Regions from separate parts of the Homo sapiens genome. Here region 1 is linked to region 2. Evidence: promoter capture Hi-C in 16 types of primary human blood cells and fetal thymus (Javierre and others, 2016). All regions are on one chromosome and are shown on one strand. Each heading gives the region's core, a stretch centred on a gene start or on the middle of the fragment in contact. The rest is flanking DNA. Distances are from core to core; before and after follow the strand shown.

The links. The method cuts DNA at HindIII sites, captures the fragments that hold promoters and counts their contacts. A CHiCAGO score of 5 or more calls a contact.
Region 1: a fragment that was not itself captured here is called in contact with the fragment with the promoter of CREB3L3 in region 2 in 1 of 17 cell types (M2 macrophages); the score reaches 5.2 in M2 macrophages.

What each region holds. Positions count from the first base shown.
Region 1 is chr19:3,860,961-3,863,660 of GRCh38, reverse strand. All of the region lies in intron 1 of ZFR2 (zinc finger RNA binding protein 2), which reads left to right. Among named protein-coding and RNA genes, the nearest start is that of ZFR2, 6.7 kb to the left of the region's middle. The HindIII fragment of the contact is 8,504 bases long and covers 1-2,700 here.
Region 2 is chr19:4,152,348-4,155,047 of GRCh38, reverse strand. It overlaps CREB3L3 (cAMP responsive element binding protein 3 like 3), which reads right to left and starts at 1,417. Exons shown (of 10, transcript NM_032607.3): 1 at 1,274-1,417; 2 at 21-149. The coding sequence starts at 1,300. The HindIII fragment of the contact is 35,033 bases long and covers 1-2,700 here.

The DNA of each region.
Region 1 (2,700 bases), core at 109-2,608, 290 kb after region 2:
CCCTGCTAGTTCAGGGCCCGGTCAGATAGTGGTTTAGGGCTACATCCTTTAGACATTAAAAAACACATGGCCAGGCATGGCAGTGCACACCTGCAGTCCCAGCACTTTGGGAGGCCGAGGAGGGAGGATTGCTTGAGGCCAGGAAGTTGAAGCTACATTGAGCTATGATCGCACCACTGCACTGCAGCCTGGGCGACAGCGAGAGACCCTGTCTCAAAAAACAATAAAAAAACAAGAGCCCCTCCCCGGAGTGGGGACATTGAGACAGCACATGGCCCCGTGTCACTGGGAAAGTAACGGTGACCCAACCCGTATCTCTCAAAAATGTCTCCCGGGCAACAGGTAGCTTGAAAAAGGCCCGGAGCCCATGCTGACCATGAGAACAGGCTCGGCAGCCCCAGTGCCAGTGACAGAACCTGTTAATACCCCTGATGGGAGCCCCTGCCTGCCAGGTGTGGCTGCAACCGGCTTCAGAACCGACCTGGTCATACCCAGCCCAGACGCCACGCTCGCCCTCCGGCAGGCCTCCAGGTCCTTCCAGTGGAAACCCCACCCACCAAGGCCAACCCCGTCCTTTGAGCTTAGGTCCAAGGAACACAGGCTGCCCTGGAGAGTCCGATGTCGCCACCTTGGGGGCCAGGGCGCATACCTGTAAATGGACTCCTACCACCAGGTCCAAAAAGCCCCAGGAAAGTGAGACCGTGGGCCCCTCCAGCTGTTTGCACATCCTAATAAGTAACTGTGCCTCTGCTGCACCCATTCTTTCCAGGGAGCACGACCCTGGAGGAGCGAGGGGGGAACTTGCCCCTCCCATGTTGCTGCGGTCTTTTTCACGCCCTTCTCAGCAAGGCTGAAATACGTGTTAGGGGCTGAACTCCTTAGAAGAGAATCCGAGAGGCAGCTGCCGGCTGCACGTGAAAATGGGTTGAAGTGTACTTTCAGGAAACCTTTTCAAATGACAGGACTTGCGGTCTGAGCTCCTATACAAGGAATTAGGTAGATTGGATGTTTTTGAAGTGTGGATTTTGATTTTTCATCTTACTTGTTTTAGAACCAAAAGTTAGGCCAGGCACGGTGGCTCACACTTGTAATCCCAGCATTTGGGGAGGCTGAGGCAGTCAGATCACCTGAGGTCAAGAGTTCCAGACCAGCCTGGCCAACATGGTGAAACCCCATCTCAATTGAAAATCCAAAAATTACCTGGGTGTGGTGGCACGTGCCTGTGGTCCCAGCTACTCGGGAGGCTGAGGCAGGAGAATCGCTTGAATCCGGGAGGTGGAGGTTGCAGTGAGCTGAGATTGCGCCATTGCACTCCAGCCTGGGCAACCGAGTGAGACTCCATCTCAAAAGAAAAGAACCAAAAGTTAGTTCATACATACTGGGGCAGAAGTAAATTCCTAGGAGACTTTTTTCTCTCCTAAACATATTCTCTGTTTCTGGATTTTTAATAGTTTTATTTTGTATTTGTCTCTTGTGTGGGTCTACCAACGTGTGTATTTAGAATGATCAGAACAAATACATCAGATTTAAAAGCATTTTCAAATGGCCCTGGAAAACAGTCTTTTCACCTGAGGGTAATGAATATTGGTGTTCTTTCCTGGGGTTCTGGGGGTCATGGGACAAAGGCCCTGATCAGATAAATAACTAGGCAGCCCTAGAAAAATAAGGAAAACACGTAGAAAGGGACTTGTAAACCCTGTGTTCATTGTCTTTGTATTTTATTATTATTATTTTTGAGACAGGGTCTCACTCTGTTGCCCAGGCTGGAGTGCAATGGCGCGATCTCGGCTCACTGCAACGTCTGGCTCACGAGTTTAAGCAATCCTCCTGCCTCAGCCTCCCTAGCAGCTGGGACTACAGGCATGCACCACCACGCCCAGCCAATTTTTGTATTTTTAATAGAGACGAGGTTTCACCATGTTGGCCGGGCTGGTCTCAAACCCCTGATCTCAGGTGATCCACCTGCCTTGGCCTCCCAAAGTGCTGGGATTACAGGCGTGAGCCACCGTGCCCAGCCCTATTTCAATTATTTTTTGAGATAGGGTCTCACTCTGTCACCCAGGCTGGAGCACAGTGGTGTGGTCATAACTTAATGCAGCCTCAACCTCCTGGCCTCAAGCAGTCCTCCCTCCTCGGCCTCCTAAGTAGTTGGGATTTCAGGTAAACACCACCACACCAGGCTAAATGTTGTATTTTTTTGTAGAGACGGGGTTTTGCCATCGGCCAGGCTGGTCTCAAACTCCTGAGCTTAAGTGATCCACCTGCCTCGGCCTCCCAAAGTGCTGGGATTACAGATGTGAGCCACCGCGCTCTGCTCAACTTTAATTTTAAAGTTGCCAGATTTCTTTTAGCTAGAAAGTTAATTTGTACATATTTGGGGGAATGACACTTCTTTTTTTGGTGGATATGTTCCTTTTGCTTTGGGCAGGTTTTTTTCCCCTAAGGTAAGTTCCATTTGCCTTTTTAAATGGACCTATTGTGAGTCGTTTACTTGTCGCGGTTGGCGGAGAGTGGAGAGGCGGCATGGCTCTGCTTCCGCGGCATTGTGGATCTGGGAAGGCCAGTCCTGCCGCAGGAGGTGAAGTCTGTGGTGAGCTCTGCCCCTTGGGAGCAGAGTGACCTGTAATGTCCCCAGGCCCTTGCCATGGATGTATAAAGAGCCGGTGGTGTCTGTTGTTTTGAGTGTCGTTGGTTGAGTCC
Region 2 (2,700 bases), core at 168-2,667:
AACTGCAGTGGACTCCTCACCTGGTCCTTGACGTGACCCCAGCCCTCGCCCAGCTCCACGTGTCTCAGGATGCCGTCCTGCCGGTCAAACAGGAGATCCAGGAGCTCAAAGCTGTCGATGGGGTCCATGGAGCAGGCAGCAGAAGCCATCTGGGGCGCGAGGAACAGATGTGAGGGTCACATACAGCCCCTGTCCTCCCCACCTCCCATGTGCACATAACCCTGGCTCTTTCCGGCTAGAGTTCAGTTGCCGCTCTGCCTCCGGGTTGGGCCAGCTGCTGCCCCTCGCTGAGACTCCCTTTCCAAATCTGGACTTTGAGGCTGATAGAGAGAATTCCACAGTGTGAGAGCCAATTTCTCTTAAAGTGCTGGAGAGGCTGGATGTGGTGGCTCATGCCTGTAATCTCAGCACTTTGGGAGGCCGGGGCAGGAGGATCACTTGAGCCCAGGAGTTCAAGACCAGCCTGCGCAACATAGAGACCCCTATCCCTACTGCAAATAATTTAAAAAAATTAGCTGGCTGCGGTGGCACACACTTGTCGTCCCAGCTACTGGGGAGGCTGAGGTAGGAGGATCCCTTGAACCCAGGAGGTTGAGGCTGCAGTGAGCTATGGCCACCCCACTGCACTCCACCCTGGGTCACAGAGCAAGACCTTGTTTCAAAAAACAAAAAAGTATGGCAGGCACGGTGGCTCACATCTGTAATCCCAGCACTCTGGGAAGCCGAGGCGGGCAGCTCACCTGAAGTCAGGAGTTTGAGACCAGCCTAGCCAACATGGTGAAACCCTGTCTCTAGGAAAAGTACAAAAATTAGCCGGGCGTGGTGGTGCACACCTGTAATCCCAACTACTTGGGAGGCTGAGGCAGGAAGATCTCTTGAACCCAGGAGGTGGAAGTTGCAGTGAGCTGAGATCGTGCCATTGCACTCTAGCCTGGGTGACAGAGGGAGACTCCATCTCAAAAAATAAAAATAAAAATAAAATAAAATAAAATAAAAAGTGCTGGAGAGAGGCCCTAGCTAGAGATGCCGCTTGCCTCTCAGGCCTTCACAGCCTCCCCAAGTGCCCGCTCCTAGGAGGCAGGGGGACCTGGAAGAAAGACAAGGGCAGCCCCGGGGCAAAGGCACACAGTTTTGCTCATTGCATCCTTTCTCTGGGCCTCAGTCTTCCCATCTGTACAATAGGGGTGGAGATGGGGTCCTTCCAGCTCTGGCAGCTTGGGTAGGCTTTCCCAGCCTAGACTCCCGCTCTCCCTGGGGACCTAGTAGGGCTCACCTTTCCAGCAGCTAAATCCGTATTCATGGGTCCATCCAGTTCTGTCTGCAGATGCCTCGGGGGGTCTCTGCTCCAAGCTGGAGGCCCACCCACCGCCAGCGTTACCTGGGGCCGGGCAAGCTCACAGCCCTCTGTGGCTCTGTCACCACTCCCAAAAGATGCTGAAGCGGTCACAGGCAGCTCCCAGCCCACCTCCAGGTGCTGATTGGTGGACAGGGTGGAGAGACAGGGTTGAGGGCCAGTGACACTGGGGCAGGCAGGAGCAGGGGAGGGAAGACCGTTATCTGGGTGTTTTGTGGTTTTCCAGCCCTCAGTGAGCAAAGGTCGAAGTCTGGGGTACCTCCACTCTGCCGTGACCTCTGCCCTACTTATGAGGACTTTTTCTTTTTTTCTTTCTTTTTTGAGACGGAGTCTCGCTCTGTGGCCCAAGCTGGAGTGCAGTGGTGCCATCTCATTTCGGCTCACTGCAACCTCTGCCTCTTGGGTTCAAGTGATTCTCCTGCCTCAGCCTCCCGAGTAGCTGGGACTACAGGTCCCCATCACCATGCCCGGCTAACTTTTGTATTTTTAGTAGAGACGAGGTTTCATCATGTTTTCCAGGCTGGTCTCGAACTCCTGACCTCGTGATCGGCCCCTCAGTCTCCCAAAGTGCGGGGATTACAGGCGTGAGCCACCGCACCCGGCCAGTTACAGGACTTTTTCTCTTCAGAATTCCCAGATGGGTTCTGGGATAGCCCAGGGCCCTTACATGGGTCCTGTCCACTCCCTGGACAGAAACAAACCAAGAGGACCAGACCAGATCTTCACTGAAGCCAGTTTTCCTGCCAGCAGCTAGCGGCTCCCATCCTTCACCCCACCTGCCAACCTCCGGCCCCCAGCCCCCTCCGAAACCAGCTTGGACTCCGCCTCTGAGTCCCCATGGGTGATTCTGTGCAATCAATTCTCTCTAGAATCTTCTATCGTTCATTGAGTCAACAAATATTTATGGAGCCAAACTGGTTCCTGCTTAGGGCCTTTGCACCTACTCACCTGCTCGCCCCTCTGCCTGGAACTCTCCTCTTGTACCCTCCCTCTTCCCCTCTGGCTCTAGGTCACTGTATTGACATTTTAGTGAATGTTCGATATTTGTGAATCAGCCCGGGTGGCTGAGAGGTGTCTCTGACCTCCCCTCCACCCCCTACCAAGAGAGAGGAGCCCTGTTTTGTTTTTTTGTTTTTTTTTTTGGTGTTGGTGGAGGACAGGGTCTCACTCTATTGCCCAGGCTGGAGTGCAGTGGCAGGATCATAGCTCACTGCAGCCTCCAACTCCTGGGTTCAAGTGATCCTCCCGTCTCAGCCTCCCAAGTAGCTAGGACTGCAGGCGTGCACCACCACACCTGGCTAATTTTGTTTTTTTTTTTTTATAGAGATGGGGTCTTACTGTGTTGG